Linked DNA regions of Homo sapiens: region 1 is linked to region 2. The links are contacts of gene promoters, found by promoter capture Hi-C in human tissues and cell types (Jung and others, 2019). All regions are on one chromosome and are shown on one strand. Each heading gives the region's core, a stretch centred on a gene start or on the middle of the fragment in contact. The rest is flanking DNA. Distances are from core to core; before and after follow the strand shown. Region 1 overlaps CDH8 (cadherin 8). Region 2 holds the start of CDH8 (cadherin 8).

Region 1 (4,377 bases), core at 510-3,009, 39 kb after region 2:
TGAGCTTCCATATAATATCTATCCTTCCAATTTCTTAGATCTGAGTCCTTTTTTTCCCCTCTGTATTGATTTTATTAAATCTTTTGGCTCAGTAAGTCATTAGAATAAAATATCTAGTCTTACAGAGAAAATGATCTTTGGAATCAGCAACTCAGTTTTATTTCGAAGATCAAGAAAGTGAATGGAGGAAGCAGAGACTTGAATATCTTTTCTAGTTGACAAGTAGCTTTTTTCTGGATGACAATGCTACTACCCATCCCAGAGGTCCTTTGATCCATGGGCTAAAGTTGGGTGACTCAGCATTCTCAGTAATGCCAAACATATAGTGGGCATGACTTGTTTAATTACAAGGTGAGAGCTTAGGTACATCTCAGAGGAAGAAGCAATAAAAAGATACATTGAAGTCCATATCAGCTTTCTCTGTGTCTTGAATCAAGGGCACCTGGTGGAAGACAGTATGCTAGATCGAAGAGTCTTGGATGCAAACAGTCCTATGTTAAAATACCCAATTCTTCCACCAACTAGCCATGTGCTTTTATGCAAATAACCTGATCTCTTTGAATCTCCATTTACTCACCTGTCAAATAAGGAAAAAGACACCTGCAGATATTTGATGAAGTGCTTTAATTATTATTTACCATAGAAGACCACATTTTATTGGGATATAATTTCAAATTTACAGAAAATTTCCAACAATAACAATATATTAATAATAATACAAGAATCTCACCATATTCATCAAGTGTTTAATTTTGCTTCATTCATTTTATCATTTCCTAATTATCTTTTCATGCATATTGCATTTTTCTTCTAAACCTTTTTCCAGCAAGTTGGGGATATTTTTTTCCATTACCATAAAATACTTCAATGTATTTTCTAACCACAGAGTAATTATTATGATCTGGAAATGTAGCATTGGCACAATACTATTATTCTATCCATAATTCATAAAAATTTTGTCAGTTATTCTAAAATTGCTGTTTATAGATATTTGTATTTCTTGGTACAGGTCAAGATGACTTACTGCATTTAATTGTCATATCTTTTTAGTTTCCTTTTATTGGAACAATTTCACAGACTTTCTTGAAATTTGTATTTTTGGAGTTTATATGCCAGTTATTTTGTGGAACATTTTTAGATTTTTGCATCTGATATTCCCTTGTGAGTACTACAAGTTAGGCGTTTTTAACAAAAACCCTGTAGAAGTGATGCGGTTTTCTAAGGGCACCATATCACAAGTTACGTGAGGTTGGTTTATCTCAATATTGATGATGCTAACTTTGCTTACCTGGTTGAGATGGTGTCTGTCAGGGCTTTCTTCTGCAAAGCTACTATTTTCCCTTTTGTTATTAATAAGTAATTTGTGGGGAGATACTTTCTGACAATTCTATTTCTCATTAGACTTTCATCCAATAGTTTTAGCATTAATTCGTGATTTTAAAAAATCTCCATATTCCTTCTATATTTATTAACTGGCATTCTACTGTAAGGAAGTCCATGATCATTTCACAGTTGTTTTTCTGGAAGGATAAAAATATGGTAGGAGCAAGAGAAAATATAGGAGTATAAGAGTCAGTGTATAGACTTTAAGGGCCTAGATAAACAACTAGTATATGGGATCTCTTCGATGGCATGTGCAAAATGATACAGGCAGGGCTTCAAAGAAATATGCATTACGTTCTTTTCTCAATAGAACATCTTTATTTTATTTCAAACAGTGTACCATAAGGCAGGATTGCGGAATATTGTGAGAATTCCTGGCACATCAGCAAAGTGGACTCTGAGAGACTTTAAGTTAAGGTGGCTTGGAAATAACATTAAAATTATGACTTTATGACTTTTTTAGAGAAAATCTGAATCTTAGGATAAAGGAGAAGAATTATTCTTTTTTAAAAAAACACTCCTCAGAAAAGGATTATACTTAAACACACACATACACACACACACACACACACATACACACAATATTCTGTGGTCATGAAATACTTGTTTGAAGTGTATTAACCTCATATATGAAAGAAAACAAAATGCTAAACTACTCAATATTTCAGGACTGTTTAAATTGTAGACCTGGGCCAGGCATGGTGTTTCATGCCTGTAATCCCAGCGCTTTGAGAGGCTGAGTGAGGTCGGAGTATTGCTTGAGCCCGGGAGTTCGAGACCAGCTTTGGCAATGTAGCAAGTCCCTCACCTCTACAAAAAATAAATATAAATGAATAAATAAATTGTAGACCTAATCAGAGATGTAATAAACTATCCTGATTGATATAATATAATTTAATTTGTGTTTTGAAAATCATTTTATTAATTGAATTACCACTGAACCATGGGTTTAGGTAAAAATGTCTTTTTCTTGGTGACCATCTTATCTAGGTCCCTGTTTTTGCAAAAACTTCAGAATTTAGAATGAAAGCTGCCGTAGCTTTATGGAATGTCAATATTATACGATTACATATATTCTCAAATAAAACCTATTGTTGATGAGCACCTTTAAATGTGATGAGTTAGTACATTAATGCTCTTTTAAGAAGGGAAAATGCCAGAGCATGAATTTGCTTCACCTGGTTAGAGGTTGGGAATAATTTTTAGTTGCATTCATTCTCCGAGGAGGGCAGAATTTGTCCCCATGTGCAGAGTTTGCCATTCCCTGCAATGACGGTGTCAAGACTGTGTTGCTCAATTACAAGGCATGATTCTTTCATCCTGGACTTAACCTCAGCCTTGATGCTGTTATTTTTAATCTGTGCTTCAGGGGATTGGGTTGGATGACCTGTCAGGTCTCTTCTAGTTCAGATATTCTAAGCTACGAAATAGAAGAGGCACTAGTAAACATTTCCACTGGCCTTGAGTTTTGATGAATTTATCTGCAAGGATGAATTAGGTTTATTCTTCTTTGTCTGGAGGCGAAGGAGACATATGTCTTTAAAGCTGCCTAACCGGACTATCTTTTCAGCATGATTTAAAAACACAGGAAACTTTCACATAGGATTAGGATCAGTATGAGCCATCTGAAGATTTCATACATTCTTGTAGGAGGAAAGTGGTTCAGAAGACCAAGAGTGGATGGATTATATCTACTGAGTTGGGCAGGTGAGATGTAAGCTTGTGAAGTTGAAAGCAATTTTTCCTTCATCCTTTTAATAAAAATGTATGTTACTTTTAATTATACAGTAATGAGAAAACATTATTACATATGATTATAGGCACTTGGTCTGCCTAATGGAATCTGTTCTGTTCTAATTCATCCGAGTAAAGAATAAGACACATAAAAAGTAAAAGTAGGCCGGGAGCCATGGCTCACGCCTGTAATCCCAGCACTTTGGGAGGCCAAGGCAGGCAGATCACAAGATTAGGAGACTGAGACCATCCTGGCTAACACGGTGAAACTCTGTCTCTACTAAAAATACAAAAAATTAGCCGGGCATTGTGACACATGCCTGTAGTCCCAGCTACTCGGGAGGCTGAGGCAGGAGAATCGCTTGAACCTGGGAGGCTGAGGTTGCAGTGAGCCGAGATCGTGCCACTGCACTCCAGCCTGGGTGACAGAATGAGACTCCATCTCAAAAAAAAAAGTGAAAGTAACAGCAAACATGCCTGCTCCCCAGACAGGCCGATCTATTGCTTTAGAATCTGAGAATTAGATGATCTTTTGTGCAAAACAGTAATTGTTTTTAGTAGCCTCTAAACAATTTGTTTTGTGTTTCCTTCCTTCTTTATTATAGCTTTGGGTCAGTCCAGTCCTGAGATGTTGTCTAATTTATAATCTTCTATCACAAGAAATAATTTCTATGTCTTATAAAAGAGAATGTTTTCATTGTATGTATACTAGGACTGTTCTCTCTTTAATAAAATTTTACCTGCGAGTACCTTGGCTAGGAACAAGACAGCTAGCATGATTTCACACAAGTAATCACCTGTTTGCAATTTGGTTCATTTTTCTTAATCTCCCCGGGACTTAGAGTTAACTTTCAGGCAGGTTTGTTAGCAGAAACTAAGTATTGTGGGACACAGTTATAACTTCAATAAAATTGTACAAGGAAACATGAACAGCAGTGGTGATATTTTGCTGTTTTTCCTGATAAGTGATTCTAACGTGAAGAGCAAAAATATTTGCAGGGGGATTGAGAAACAAGAATTGAGAAATATGTTCTCTTGCAGTGGTTCTGAAAGCGCAGTAAGCATCAGAATCATGTAGGAGGATTTGTTAAAGCAGGTACAGTGGGCCTGACTTCAGAGTTTCTGATTCAGTACCTCTGTGGTGGGACAGAATTTGTGTTTCTGACAGGTCCCCACGCAATGCTGACAATGCTGGTCTGAAGACCACACTTTTAGTACCAGTGATCTAACATATCCTCCAAATAGTTTTATTTTGGTAGC
Region 2 (4,996 bases), core at 830-3,329:
CTATCACACTGCTTAATCATCCAAACCTCTCTTAAGAATTAGTCAGGAAATTCCTATTGTAACGCTTTGAGCAGATATTAGCAGGTATAGACAGGTTACCCTGAATTCCAGAGGACCAAAATTCAGGGAAGACAATGTATATAACTGCTGTAAGAGTAAATATGGACAAGATGAGTCAAAGCAAACTCTTCTTAACCCTAGATACCCAAAGCCATTGGATTCTGGCTCTCTTTAAAAGCCATTGGATTCTGACTATCTTTACTATGTCAGCATAGTTTGTTAAGAAAATGAGATTTGAGGATATTGTCTAACAATCTGGCTTTTTTTTTTTTTTTTGAGACAAGTTTGTTACTTGTGACAATCCCCAGCTTTCAGTAGCACATGAGTTTTTTTGAGTTTTCATAGATGTAAGAAGTTACCCCAAGGAACGGTTCAAATTATTTGTTCAAGTGAAAATGAATATCTGAAATTAAGCACAACCCAAAATGTGATCTATTTCTTTGTCCACTTGGGACTGTCTGGTCTAGCAGCAGTTATAATTTGATTGAGCCTTGACTGCTGCTCCTTTTTCCAAGACAGAATTAGCCAATTCCAATACCCTGTAAGCAGACACAGTCTGAGAAGAGAACAAACAGTTACTTAGTGACTGCCTGGGGGAAAAAAAATACCACTTGGTTCTCTTCACCTCTCCCTCTCTGAAATAATCCACTAAGTTTCTTGCCTATGACAGCTAGAACATGAAACAATCAGATATTAGAGCTACAGCCAATACTCTTTTTCACATTTCACAATGGGTTGTCAGATGCAGCACACAAAAAAATGTCAAATTTGCATAAATATCATAAGCATGTTGTGCCTATTTTCTCATTCTGTTCACTCTTTCTCATTAATTTGAGTGAGACAGTACAAGCTCTACAGACTGTGCGTCTTGTCCCCTGCACCTTTTTCCCCCTTCTGTTCTTGCTCTGTCCCCAGATGGTAAAATCCACCCTCAGGCTCACGTCTAGTGCACACAGGGAAGGGACTAAATCGGGATCTCCTGTGGAGGGGAGGGTTTTTTTTTTTAAGGTAAGAATTTATTTGTCTTATATTTATCTAATTTTATTAGAAGATGATGACTGTGGCATCGTCTACATGTTAGCCCCAGTGTTGAAAAAGAAAAGAAATCTGGACCTCCTGATTCATGGTCCCTTTTACCCCAGGGTGGCCATTTCTCAAGATCTGAGCGCAGCCCATCAGAAGACTTGAAGTGACCACAGACAGGGCAGGTCTTGGTGGAGGCAGGAGAACCGCAAGGATGGTATCTGAGAGGATATGACAAGATCAGGGCACATTGAGAAGACCTAGAAATTCCTCCCCTATTTCCCAAGCAAGTTCTGCTTTGCCTGCCCTCCTCCCCACAACCAACTACTGCGCGCCCCTCCTGGCTGCCACTCTGCTGTCCCTCATCCCATTTTCCCAAAGGAGCACGGGGACATCAGGAATGCGCTCCATCACAGAACCGCGACACACAGCCTCTACATAGCGTCTGAGTTGCAGGCAGGGGTCTCACAATCACCCTATTCTGTACGCAAGAGGCCCTTGGAATAAAGAGGAGGTAAGCTGCCCACGCTCAACCCTTTGCCCTGTCGCGTCCTCTTCCTCCTACGGAAAATAGCTGCGGGTCACTGAGACGCTTTTCAACATAACGCCAGCCCCAGAGCTCAGGTGAGACCTCTAGAGAGAAAGCTCGCAGGTACCTCATCCGCATGCTGTTATTATCTGCCAGCCCACTTATCCAGGAGCTCGGTCCTCAGCGGGCTGCGCGCACCGCGCGGAAGGGCGCATCTTCACCTCGTGGCTCTGGCGGCAGAGACGCGCGGGGCTTGCTCGGGAGCGAGGAGCGAAAAGTTGTGCGCCCACTTGGGTAGGGGGAAAGAGAGCGATCGAGCCAGCGCGGGAGAGCGAAGGGGGAAGGCGGGGAGGGGGCGGGGAGGGGGGACTGCTTACATGAATTTCCAAGTGGTAGACCTGCCTCTGCGCTCTGCCCAATGAGATCCGTCAGGGGAGGCACCCGGCTCACTTTTCCACATCACTTCACAGTTACATTTGGCAGGCAGGCGGGCTCGCACGCCGGAGCGCTCAGCCCAGAATTAGTGGATTTATTTGGAATCTCCCTGCCTCCTCCAAGCTCCGCCGCCGCCGCCGGCTTGTGCATAGACGGTAGCGTCAAGACACCAGCTGCACTTTGGGTTGCGGACACCCAGAGCCCAGCGCGCCCGCCCTGCGTCTCCGCACCAAGCCCTGTAGCTCCGAGAGGCATGAACGGAATCCGGAGGCGCCTGCCTAGCGAGCGAGGACCGGTCGGCGCTTGCCGCCCTCGGGAGCTAACCCCGAGCACCTCCAGCCATTTGTGAACCTGGAGGCTTGACATTCGCCAGCGCAGGGCCCCACAAGAGTAAGTGTTCCCCTAACCCACCCCCGTTTTCCTCTATGTTCCGACTATCCAGAAGGGACCGTTTCTTATAGGAATTCCCATGCCCCTTCGGACACCTTGCGCGCCTCCTGCCCCTCAGATGGTGGATGAGGGTTCTTAGCATAGGCTCTGGGCTAAGCTGTGTCTTTCGCGATATCCGTGGGTGATAACGTACGTACGCCTCAAGGTTTTGCCTGACTGTTTTTGCAAACTGCTTTGACAACAGATCCTAGAGAGTAGCAAGCTCCAGGCTGTGCCCCTCCAGTTTTCCTGCCGGTTTCCTTCCCTGCGGCGACTTGGCTATTTCGCCGCTTCCCAACGCAGGCAGGCGCGGCTGCAGCCGCGCGCCTTCACTGCGGGGTCCGTGCGGTGAATGGGAAGCACCTGCAGCCCGCTGTGCGGAGGGTGCAAGCCAGGGAAAAAAGGAGGCGAGGGGGCCCGAGTGGTCTATGGCTGGTTTTCTGCACCGCCTCATCTCCGAGGCGAGGGAGGGCGACCCCCGCGGCAGGGCTGCGGGCCAAGGCTCAGCTGCGAAAGCCCCAGCGCGAGGCTTTCCCACAAGTGGCAGCTCCAGCTCTGGGAGGTGCGGTGCCCGCTACAAACTTGCCGGGCTCCGGAGTCGCCCTGCGGCTCTGCCCTCGCCAAGACGCTGCCCAGCACCCCTGCAGGACCCCCAGGCAGTGTCTCCCCGCAACTCGAGATTGCGTGCACGGAGGCCCCCTTAAGCCGGGGACTCCGTAGCCGCTCTCCTAGGGACAGCTGAGCCCAGACCTGCGCTTTCTGTGGTCTGGCCGCTTCTCATCCGGGAACCTTTGAGGGGCTGGTCGCGCCCCTCGCAGGATCGGAGGGAAAAAGGCTCTTGCCTAGGTTCTGCCAGTACGTAAGAGGTTCATAAGGGACCTACTCCGGTTCTCCCAGGATCCAGCCAAGGCTGGGAAACGGTAAAAAAACGTGCTGCCGCCAACGCTGATGCCAACAGGTATCCACAATTTCCTCCGCTTATTCCTCCCAAACACCAGAGCCTTCCCCCACCCAGTCTGGCAGAATCCTCAAAGTTTCCTTGCGGTTGACCCTTCCCCCGCAGGCACGGAGCCGGCGGCATGTCAAGGACTAGCCGTTTGCCTCCACCAGCGGAGATGGCAGCTGTTTGCTTGGGTTGCTAAATGTAAGAAATCAAACCACATTAATTGTTTATTGTTGCAAACGCACAATATTAGTCCGTAATGGAAAATCGGGCTGGCAGCTGCTCACTTCAGCACCAATTAAACGATAGAGCTTATCACCAAGACAGCGGGAGGGAGGAAAGGTCCTTTCAACTTTACCACCCTTTCCTGAAGATTCCACAAGAGTTTCCTCCTTAGGAGGCATGATTCGACAATCCCTTAGCGCGCCCGAGCTGCTAATCAGATCAGCTGCTTTCTTTCACCTGGCGTCATGATATCTGGGGGCTGACAATGGGAACGAGGGGACGCTAGGGAAGGTAAGCGAGAGTACTGTCCTCTCGCATCCGGTACCATCGCAAAGCAGATCCGAGGGATGGGGGCTGGCTTTTGAAGCGCCTGTTCTCTTTACAACACTCCTGACAGCCATCTCAATGGTTAAAAACCCTCCTTGGGCTGTCACCTCAGGCTTTATTATAGGAGCTTTTCAACTGGAAAACTATATGTGGGAAAGATGTTTATGTAAGATTCGAAAGTGGGATTTTCCATCCATTCAGCCTCGCTGCTGCACCTCACTGCATGCAAAGTGAGCCCTGTCGTTCATGCTAAATACCAGTAAAATCCCTGCCTAGATATTGCTTTGCATCAGCTGTGTCCAGTGTTGCAGGGATTTCTTCGTGTGCGTGTGTGTGTGTGTGTGTGTGTGTGTTTGAGAGAGAGATATATATATGAGGTGGGGGCTGGGAGTGGGATTCTTCTACAGAGAGAAGTGGTACCTTTGAAGGATGTTCTCTTAGGGTTACATTCTTTTTCCCTTAAAGGGAGTTCTCCATAATCATCATGTCCAGACATGTTTTTCCACTTCCCCGAGCTCTGTGGCTGGAATAAATTCTAGAGCTATCCCCCTTATTAAATAATAATTCTGATAATAATATTCTGTAATTCTGCTTTAGCAGATTTGAAGCTCGCTGTCACATAGTCATTTCATGCTGGAGCAGTCACAGTATTTTAAATCGCCTTTGATTTTTTTTTTTCTGGACTCTGAAGAAGGCGAGGAGTTGAGGAAAATCCCTCTGAAAACAGAGAGGGGAGTCTTTCCAGCAACTCCGGGGACTGCTTCATTCAGAGCCCTTCCGTGGCAGTTCACCTTCCTCATTCTGATCCCCACACTCCCCAAGTGAATGTCAAGTTATCCCCTGACCATCGCAAATAGGCCAAATGTTTTAGAGACACTGGCTAATGTGCTCTGAAACTTGTGCTGTAATGCTGTCATTCAAACTTTTTAATCTATTCTCCCTGCAAATTGGTTCTTACATTACTAATTATTATTACTGTTAGAAATCAGTGCTTCTGCTTTATCATTTACAGTCTCTTAAAGCCT

The links. The method cuts DNA at HindIII sites, captures the fragments that hold promoters and counts their contacts. A contact is called where the count stands out against the background at its distance.
Region 1: a contact is called between a fragment that was not itself captured here and the fragment with the promoter of CDH8 in region 2, in 1 of the 25 tissues and cell types used here (neural progenitor cells).

Annotation. Positions count from the first base shown.
Region 1 is chr16:61,994,581-61,998,957 of GRCh38, reverse strand. The region is part of intron 2 of CDH8 (cadherin 8); the gene reads left to right. Among named protein-coding and RNA genes, the nearest start is that of CDH8, 40 kb to the left of the region's middle. The HindIII fragment of the contact is 5,574 bases long and covers 1-4,377 here.
Region 2 is chr16:62,033,521-62,038,516 of GRCh38, reverse strand. CDH8 (cadherin 8) reads left to right here and starts at 2,079. Exons shown (of 12, transcript NM_001796.5): 1 at 2,079-2,437. LOC124903777 (a long non-coding RNA gene) reads right to left here and starts at 1,927. Exons shown (of 2, transcript XR_007065217.1): 1 at 1,740-1,927; 2 at 1,084-1,304. RefSeq lists an enhancer at 3,777-4,278. The HindIII fragment of the contact is 11,196 bases long and covers 1-4,996 here.